Linked DNA regions of Homo sapiens: region 1 is linked to region 2. The links are contacts of gene promoters, found by promoter capture Hi-C in human tissues and cell types (Jung and others, 2019). All regions are on one chromosome and are shown on one strand. The core of a region is centred on a gene start or on the middle of the fragment in contact, and the rest is flanking DNA. Distances in the headings are between cores, read along the strand shown.

Region 1 (5,209 bases), core at 1,846-4,345, 1.0 Mb before region 2:
CATCTTTTCTAAACATTGCCATTATTACTTTTTTCTAATGCAAGTGTTGGAAATCAATGTACTCAAATTCCCTTGCAGATGGAATTTTATTCTGGCCAGTAAGATGTAGGTGCAATTTCTTGGGAGGACTTCCTTAGTGCACTGAAAAAGTAAAAGCTTGAGGAAAAGGTTCTGTCTTTCTCATTTTGCTCTTCCCATTTCTTTCTGCCTGGAACTTAGAATTACTGCCTGGAGTTGCAGCAATCATCTTTTGACCATGAAGTTAAAAATTACACACTGAAAGTGGCAGTCCAGGAGACAGAAGACAGGCTTTTAAATGACATTCTTGCATAGGTGCATTAGCCCTGACCTATCTACCTCTAGATTCTTTTTTGCATGAGAAAAATACATCTTTAGGCGACTATTTTCAGTTATCCATTCTTTGTAACAAATAACATTTGTAAGCATAAGCGATACAACCTATTTGCAACAAACTAAAAAGTTGTATGGGGATATCTGTCATTTTAATTTTTAATGTATGCTTTCTTCATTGTGCTTCCAATATATCAAACTCTCTTGGTATTTCTCCTGCATTACAGGTTGTTTTTTTCTCAGTTGCTTTGCTGATCCTTTTTTTCCTGGCCTCTATTCATGTTAGAGTGCCCCAGGTCTCTAGGTTAGGTGCTGCAGACTCTCTAAGAGTCTTGTTTGTTTGTTTTTTTGGTCTCATCTAACTTCAGGGCTTCAAATACTATCTATATGCTGGCAGATCCTAAATGTATATTTGTAACCCAGGCCTCTCTCTCTCTCTCTCTCTCGCTATCTCGTTGTGTGTCCAACTGCCTACTCAACATCTTCATTTGAATGTCAAATAGTTGATCTATCTATCTATCTATCTATCTATCTATCTATCTATCTATCTATTATCTATCTGTTATCTATCTATCTATCAGCTATATATATCTGTTTTAGAGATGGGGTCTCACTACATTGCCCAGGCTGGACTCAAAGAGATCCTGTGCTCAAGAGATCATCCTACTTCAGTTTCCCAGTAGCTGGGACTGCAGGCATGCCAGGATATAAAGTAGCTGATCTCTTACCTTCAAAACAATTTCCATCACTTGAGCCCAGGAGTTTGAGACCAGCCTGGGCAATGTGGCAGAACCCTGTCTCTACTAAAAATGCAAAAAATTAGCAAGACATAGTGGCCCATGCCTGCAGTCCCAGCTACTCAGGGGACTGAGGTGGGAGAATCACCTGAGCCCAGGAAGTCGAGGCTGCAGTGAGCTGTGATCATGCCACTGCACTCCAGCCTGGGCGACTAGAGTGAGACCCTGTCTCAAAACAAAACAAAACAAACAAAAAACTTAACTTCCAAGCCAGATGCGATGACTCACACCTGTAATCCCAGCACTTTGGGAGGCTGAGGCAGGCTGACCATGAGGTTAAGAGTTTGAGACCAGCCTGACTAACATGGTGAAACCTCATCTCTACTAAATACAAATATTAACTGGGCATGATGGTGCGCACCTGTAATCCCAGCTACGCAGGAGGCTGAGGCAGGAGAATCTCTTGAATCCAGGAGGCGGAAGTTGCAGTGAGCCGAGATTGTGCCATTGCACTCCAGCCTGGGTGACAGAGCGAGACCCCATCTCAAAAAACAAACAAACAAAAAAACCAAAAAAACAAAAAACTTAACTTCTTCCTTCTCTCAAGCTTGATCCACCATCAGTGTCCATCATCTCAGTTGATGGCAACTCTAATTTTCCAGTTGCTCATGCCCCAAATCTTGGAGTCATCCTTGGCAATCCTCTTTCTCACGTTCTGTGTCTAATCTGCCAAGATTCTGGTTCTCCCTTAAGCATACCTGAAATCTATTCAGAATCTGACCGCTCTCACTCTCTCTAGTGCTGCCACCCTGGGCCATGCCATCATGACCTTTCACCTGTATGACTGCAGTAGGCTCCTCAAAAGTCTCCCCACTTTGCTGTTTTCCCTCCCACAACAGACTATTTTCAAAGCAGCAGCTAGAGGAATCCTTTTAAAATGAAGTCATGATCACTCTTCTGCTCAAAACCGTGCAATGTCTTTTCGTCTTACACTTATCAAGGCCTGTCACGATCTGGCCTTCGTCACCTCTTCAAAGTTCTCTTCCGTTCTCTTTGTTCACTTCCTTCCAACCTCACGGGCCTCATTGCAGTTTCTAGAGCACAACAAGAACACACCCCTGTCATGGCCTTTGAACTGGCTGTTCCCTTTGTATGGAATGCTCTTTCCCTAGTTATCTTTGGATAATCCTCTCACTTCCTTAAAGTATCTCCTTAATTTCATCTTTTCCAAGAGGCCGACTTTGACAGTCCTATTTAACCTTGCCATCGGCACCATCCCACCATGTCCACCTCTATGCTGCCCCCATCCCCAGCACATCCCATCCCACCTACCCTGCTCAACTTTCTCTTTCTTCCCCTACAACGTATAATCTTCTAACTTACTGTATAGTTTATTGACGTGCTTTTGGTTATTTTCTGCCTCCCCTTCTAGAATGTAAACTATGTGATGACAGAATTTGCATGTTTTGTTCACTGATACATCCCTGGTGCCTGGAACAGTGCTGGTTCAGAGTAAGTGCTCAGTAAATATTTGTTGCAGGATTGAATAAATTACCCATTCACAGAAGGATTTATGGGGGAGCTTCGGGGCAGCAGACTAACTGAGAAACCAACACTCAAATCTGGCAACTCCTGAAGCCAGATTGAATGTTGACCCCGAAGTTCCTTCCCATGTGCATCAACTCAGAATGCTTACAACATAATGACTGTGGCCGTCTCTAGTGAAAAAAGAACAACAGTCTTGAGAGTGACTGTATGGGAAGCTTTTAGTAGGGACACAGCTGAAAAGCACCCTTTGCAGTTAAATAGAGCTTTTCTTGAATCTGGAAAAACCAAACACTCCACAGAATGCACTCATTTGCCATCAGACTTATGGGAATAATTGTATCCCAGATTTAAAAAAAAACCCAGAGTTTTACTGGCAACCTGTCCAAGCCTGGAGTGAGTGAGGCTAAAGGAAGAACTAGATATAGGGAAATTTTTTACCCCAAGCACTACTGGAATTAAGTACGTGGGTGATCTTGGGTGGTGGCTACTTTCATAAAAGGTGTTTTTGTAGAACTTGTGAATTTCTCAGAAACACTGACTTGTACCTCACTGAGGCTGAGAGTTTGTTCTACTTCTGGTCTGAATAAGCAAATGTTTAGTTTCAGTTCCTCTTCAAATTCAGGACTGTCGTTAGATTTCTATGAAAGCTACTTGGCAAAGGACCCAGTCCATCCATAGAGGCCTGCTTCAGCGTGGAGTACAGCATACAATAGTGTGTATTTAGACTATGCTACAGCTGAGGGCTAGCCACTTGATAGAGCTCCTCTATGTTAATGGTGTTAGAATGGAAATTCTTTATCCTTGTAGCTGTACCATAGGGTGGGGACCAGGGACACTCAACAGAGTTGGGAGTCCATGTGCCTCCTTAAATTTTGCACCTCAGGCATCTCACATGCCTCATTCTGGTTGTGATCCTGCTGCAATCTGTTCTCACTCTGAACCACATGGAGTTAGCATTAAATGCTATGGGAAATCTAGAAATTTTCTCATGCTGAGTTCCTTTAAAGAGAGTCACCATCTTGGTTCTGATACTCTCTGACTGGTATTGGACAAGCCTTTCTTTGTTAGCAACTTGAAACTGTGGGAGGCTCTCTGTAGAATTACTGTTATGTTTTGGAATAACAAGAACAGCATTTTGCTGCTGGAAAAGGCCATTTTCCTTCTGTCTGCTTTTTTTCATGTATTGCCTTTCTTTTCTTTCTAAAACATCTTTTGTTTCATTTTTGTTCTCAAATCATTGTGTTTAGAACAACAATAATTGAGAGTCTAGCGGGAAGTTTTTATAAACTAACAATTGGGTTTAAACAAAGGCTTAATAGTCAAGTTCTGAATAGTTGGACTCCTGAAAAGTTCTAGCTAGAATGATCATAAATATAACATTTAAAAAAATACACAGGGGGAGTCCTTTTTACTAATTTTTCTCTTTTAAGTGAAGAGTTTTGTATGCATTAGGTAAGACCAACCAATCCTGTTTCTCATAGCTCTATATCTGTTGCTTGGTCAGATCACAGTGAATTTACCTGGGTTATAGGATGCCCTGCATCTGGACAGGGGTGATGCTTCATGAACATGAATTCATTGACAATATTGTGCCTGTAAGAAGCTGAGTTTGCTGGGAAAAAGGCACTAGCAGATCACATTCTTGAGAGTTAGTGATAATAATGAACATGATTATAATGTGCAAAGACTTTTATAACTTTTCTTTTTTTTTAAGAGATGGGGGCCGGGTGTGGCAGCTCACACCTGTAATCCCAGCACTTTGGGAGGCCAAGGCGGGTGGATCACTAGGACAGGAGTTTGAGGCCAGCCTGGCCACTATGGTGAAACTCCATCTCTACTAAAAATACCAAAGTTAGTCGGGCATGGTGGTGCACGCCTGTAGTCCCAGCTACTCAGGAGGCTGAGGCAGAAGAATTGCTTGAATTTGGGAGACGGAGGTTGCAGTGAGCCGAGATCATACTACTGCACTCCAGCCTGGGTGACAGAGTGAGACTCTGTCTCAAAAAAAAAAAAAAAAAGAGATGGGGGTCTCTTCATGTTGACCAGGCTGGTCTCAAACTCCTGGTCTTAAGTGATCCTTTCATTTTGGCCTTCCAAAGTGCTGAGATTACAGGCATGAGCCACCACACCCGTCCTGTTATCATATATTTTAAATAAGCCTCATGACAATCACATAAATTTTTTTTATTACTCATATATTTTAGGTGAGCAAAAGAAAATTCAAAGGTAGTAACATAGCTAGAATTACAAAGGAAGAGGTGTGATTTGTGCTCATGTCTTAATTTTTAAAGCAAATTGAGGCCGGGCATGGTGGGTCAAGCCTGTAATCCCAATGCTTTGGGAGGCTGAGGCAGGAGGATCGCTTGAGGTCAGGAGTTCCAGACCAGCCTGAGCTGGTGAGACCCCCGTGTCTACAAAAAAAAAAAAAAAAAAAAATTAGCTAGTCTTGGTGTTGGTGCACACCTGTACTTCCAGCTACTTAGAAGGTTGAGGCAAGAGGAGCGTTTGAGCCCAGGAGGTTGAGGCTGCAGTGAGCTGTGATAGCACGACTGCATTTCAGCATAGGTGACAGA
Region 2 (5,159 bases), core at 2,328-4,827:
AGTTTTTTTTAAAGACTTTCTTCCAGCCTCCTTGCTTTTTGCTAATAACTCTCCGTTAAGCCCTATCCTATGTAACTGTTGGACATGCTCACAGGCAGGTTCCAGCTCATAGCCTATGCCCCTTCCTTATTTGGAAATGTTATTTCTTCCTTAAACCTTTCATAAGCAACTTATTTGTTCTCCCCTGCACTTACCTATTTAGGAAAGTTTCAGGTTATTAGCAAATCAGGTATCAGTTTAAGATTGTGAGGTTCTAGCCTGATCAACATGGAGGAACCCCATCTCTACTAAAAATACACAATTAGCTGGACGTGGTGGCACATGCCTGTCATCCCAGCTACTAGGGTGGCTGAGGCAGGAGAATTGCTTGAACCTGGGAGGTGGAGGTTGTGGTGAGCCGAGATCGTGCCACTGCACTCCAGCCTGGGCAAAAAGAGTGAAACTCCGTCCCAAAAAAAAAAAAAAAAAAAAAAAAAAAAAAAAAAAAAAAGATGGTGAGGTCCCAATACAGCCAATGGATGCAGGACACAGCAATAAGGACAACCCAAATGCGTAAGGGATAAATATGTCTCATTTTCCTTTGTTCAAGTTTGCTCTCGACATTGTTCCATCTGCGAATGAGCACCCTTTCTGCAGAAAGTAAAGATGGCCTTGCTGAGAGATCTTTTGTCTCTGTGCTGACTTTTCTTCATGGCACCGATTATCTATTTCTAACAGTTTTGGTATTTCTAACATCTTACATATCCTTATTAGATTTATTCCTAGACATATATTTTATGCCATTGTGAATTGTACCTTTGAAACATACAAATTTTTGTTCGTTGATGAGAAATAAAAATGTACAATTTCCTGTTTGTTGCTGGGAAATAGAAATAATATTTATGAACAGATTTTTATCTCCAGCAACCTCCCCAAACTGCCTACTAGTTCTGATACCTTATCTGTGGATGCCATTGGAGTTTCTATTATTGGAGTTTCATATAATCATCAAATAATGACAGCGTTATTTCTTACTTAGCAGTCCTTATATGTTTTATTTCTTTTTCTGATTTATTGAGATGGCTAGGGACTTAAAGCACTGACTCTAAGGATAATTGAATTTAGATTCATATTTTGAAGGTAGAGCCAACAGGATTTGCTGACAGATTGCATTTAGGCTATGAGAGAAAGACAGGAATCAAGGTTGAGTTTAGGGTTTTTGGCCTGAGCAACTGGAAAAATGGCTTTGCCGTTTACTGCAGGCAATACCAGTAGTTTGTTGAACATATAGTGCAGTTAATTAAATGAAGAAAGACAAAAATGCTCACTGATATTTATTAGCAATGATCTTTCTAACAGATGTTAGCCTGGTATTCCACTTTTGAACTAACTCACTCCAGTAAGGATTTACATTTACAAATACTCCCAGGAGGGTTTAACTTACGGCTTTCTGTTCAGCCACTGCCATCTACAGGGGGCTTCTCTGAATATAAACTGTGCATGCTGATTAAAATCTAAAAAATAGCCAGGCAGGGTGGCTCACGCCTGTAATCTCAGCACTTTGGGAGGCCGAGGCAAGCGGATCACCTGAGGTCGGGAGTTTGAGACCAGCCTGACCAACATGGAGAAACCCCGTCTCTACTAATAATACAAAATTAGCCTGGTGTGGTGTCACATGCCTGTAATCCCAGCTACTCGGGAGGCTGAGGCAGAATAGCTTGAACCCAGGAGGCAGAGGTCACGGTGAGCCAAGATCGTGCCATTGCACTCCAGCCCGGGCAACAAGAGTGAAACTCGGTCTCAAAAAAAAAAATCTAAAAAATATATGGGATGATTTTCCCCTCCAGCCTCCTCAACCCTTCCTGTTTCCACTACACACACACTCACACATACACACACACTTATCTTGTTTTCAATCTTGCCCCAGGTCAGACAACTGTAAGAGAAACTCCTACCCAGGAAACTGAGTCCCTGCAATGCACTTACAAGTAGCTTCTCTGAAAAGAAAAAGATCATGGACAGACCAGCTGCATTTACAGAGAGTTAACCTAAGAAAAATAAAGAAACAGTGAAGGGGTGCCAGGAGCATTGGCTCATGCTTGTAATCCCAGCACTTTGGGAGGCCGAGGCAGATGGATCACGAGGTCAGGAGATCAAGACCATCCTGGCTAACACAGTGAAACCCCATCTCCACTAAAAATACAAAAAAAAAAAAAAAAAAAAAGCCAGGCGTGGTTGGGGGGGCACCTGTAGTCCCAGCTATTCGGGAGGCTGAGGTAGGAGAATGGTGTGAACCTGGGAGGCAGAGCTTGCAGTGAGCAGAGATCAGGCCACTGCACTCCAGCCTGGGCGACAAAGCGAGACTCCATCTCAAAAAAAAAAAAAAGAAAAGAAAGAAACAGTGAAAGGGTGACTCCCGCAAAAGAGATCCAGGATCACTCAATAAGGCCTCATTGTCCTAGCTAGAATGCCAATTTAACCATCCTTAATCACCTGGCTGTCAAAGGACGGGTAAAGCCTTAGGTGTCTTTTGCACAAAGAAGAAAACTTTAAAAGCTTGCTCATTTAACAGTCCAAAGTCCCACTAACCTACCCACCCTGATGTTTATTCAACACACATATCGGGTATCTCATTGGGGTAAGGGTGATGAGTTGGCTACCTCTCCCCTCTTCCACTTCTCACCCACCACCCAATCTCAAAAATGTAAGCTCCAAATAAGCAGTGACAATTATCTTGTAAACCCCTCTGTCCTCAGTATCCAAAATGATGCCTGTCATACAGTAGGCATACAATACTTCAGAATTAACATTTTAAAGACTTTTAAATACTTAAAAGAGCTAGATTTTCACTTATAGTAAATAAAATCAGTGTTGTTTAAAATCAGTGAGTCAATAAATAGCATTGTCACTACCTGAGATAAATGTTACAGGAAACAGCTGATGGAATTTAAAAACTTTGCTTCTAAGGATTGGAACCCTATTGGTAAGCGACTGCTGTTTTTTAAACACAGTTTTTACCACTATGATTTTTATTATTATGTGCAATTACTTGTCTACATGTTTACATTATACACATATCCAACACATTTCCAGCATCCTAACATAATTATTCATTTTTGGGTGTGATCTGCCTTCTTTATCCATATATACACACATTCATATTAATATAGTTGTTTGCAATCATAGCTATGTATTTTTATGGTTGGTTTTGTTTTTCACTTCACATATTGTTTCCTAAACAGCTTTCCCTGTTTCTACACTCGTCATAATAATTCTCAATGACTGCATGATATTCTAACATGTCAGTGTATCATAATTTAGCTAAATAAACTAAAATGCAACATGTAAGGTTTCCATTTTTTGCTTTGGAGATAATGTTGATAAGAGTGGCAGACACGTGGTCTCGTCTGTTTTGCGTCTTTGCTTCTGATGAATCATATTCTGGAGCTCCATCTAAGAATCCCCATGCCCAGATTAGGGACTGCGAGCGACCACCCAGCGCCAGCGCGACCAGGACCAAGGACCTCCGCGGCTGAGCGGCGAGTCCGGGAGGGGCTCTGCGCGTCCCCGCCCCGCGCCGCGTCACCGACGTCCCGCTAGGCTGAGACCGGTGCGCCGCGCGCTAGTGGCCGCTCTTCCGCGGGCTAGCGGGCGGTGGGGGCGCCAGCAGCGCGGAAGGCGGGCACGCGGGCCATGGCTCCCTGGGCGGAGGCCGAGCACTCGGCGCTGAACCCGCTGCGCGCGGTGTGGCTCACGCTGACCGCCGCCTTCCTGCTGACCCTACTGCTGCAGCTCCTGCCGCCCGGCCTGCTCCCGGGCTGCGCGATCTTCCAGGACCTGATCCGCTATGGGAAAACCAAGTGTGGGGAGCCGTCGCGCCCCGCCGCCTGCCGAGCCTTTGATGTCCCCAAGAGGTAACCGCGCCCCGGTCCCGAGCCGCGGTGGTCAAGGCGCTGAGAGTTCGGGGCGCCCCGGCTCGCGGGCAGCCAGCAGGGGGCAGCAGAGGCGGGACCCGGCCTGGGAGGCCCTGGCGGGTTCCCGGGCGCAGCACGGCGCTCCCTCGGCCTGGCCCCGGCCATGCCCCGGCTGCTGCGTGGCTCCGGGGAGCAGTGCCCGGGTGTCCGCGGACGCCGAGGGAGAGCGGAGCCGCTTGCACTCAGCTGGAGGAATGTGAACTGGTAGCCGCACGGAGCCTTTCCCTGTGGGAAATGGCAACGCATCCGAATTTAGGCCTGGTCATGCGAATTTAGGCGGCAAATTGAAGTGCCCCTTGCCCCAAATTCTCCTTTTTCCCGTACCCTGCACTCCAGTGGCTCATACTCTAACTTGAGGTCACCGGGAATCATTTGTGGAAATGAAGTTAGGCCGGCTCTTCGGCCTCGGCTTCCCCCGTTTCTCTTCCCAACCCTTGCAGTGGGGACAAAGGACTGAGTCGCCCTAACCTGCACCTTGGCAGGTGCCCCTGGGGAAGGTGGCCCAAGGTGCAGGTCATAGGCAGGCCCGTCCCGAAGCTCCATTTGACTTTCGAAAAATTCTGTAACCCAGTTCAGCGAAGGATTAAATCGTCAGGTTTTAAATAGAGACCTGTTATAATTTTCTTCTTCTCCTTTTTCCACTTTAAATTCAGGACATAGCTGGAAAGAGTTGGCCAAATACTATTCGAGATGGTAGAAATAGAACAGTGCCCCTTAAGATGCATCTTAGGCCGGGCGCAGTGGCTCACGCCTGTAATCCCAGCACTTTAGGAGGCTGAGGCAGGCGGATCGCTTGAGTTCAGGAGTTCGAGACCAGGCTGGGAAATATAGTGAGACTCCGTCTCTCCTGAAAATACAAAAAATTGGCAGGGCTTGGTGGCGTGTGCCTGTAGTGCCAGCTACTTGGAATGAAGGCAGGAAGATCATCTGAGATCAGGCATTGGAGACTGCAGTGGGCTATAATCATGGCACTGCACTCTAGCCTGGGCAACAGAGAAATACCTTGTATTTAAAAAAAATTTTTTTTTAAAGGTTAAAAACATCTGGGTTGTCGCTTGAAACACTCATAGGCAGTGCCCCAGGTCCGCAGGCAACAAAGGGACAAGTATAATTTGGCTTCTAAAACTTGGATAATCTGCGAATTTTGACTGTCAGAGAAAGATGTGTCATGTGTTAACACAGAGAAGGGAGAACTAGGTCATTCTG

What was found. The method cuts DNA at HindIII sites, captures the fragments that hold promoters and counts their contacts. A contact is called where the count stands out against the background at its distance.
Region 1: a contact is called between a fragment that was not itself captured here and the fragment with the promoter of SRD5A3 in region 2, in 1 of the 25 tissues and cell types used here (dorsolateral prefrontal cortex).

The regions. Positions count from the first base shown.
Region 1 is chr4:54,312,544-54,317,752 of GRCh38, forward strand. No RefSeq gene overlaps it. Among named protein-coding and RNA genes, the nearest start is that of LINC02283, 18 kb to the right of the region's middle. The HindIII fragment of the contact is 4,340 bases long and covers 926-5,209 here.
Region 2 is chr4:55,342,665-55,347,823 of GRCh38, forward strand. It overlaps SRD5A3 (steroid 5 alpha-reductase 3), which reads left to right and starts at 3,578. Exons shown (of 5, transcript NM_024592.5): 1 at 3,578-3,893. The coding sequence starts at 3,673. RefSeq lists an enhancer at 3,299-4,059 and silencers at 3,511-3,680, 3,891-4,160. The HindIII fragment of the contact is 5,833 bases long and covers 738-5,159 here.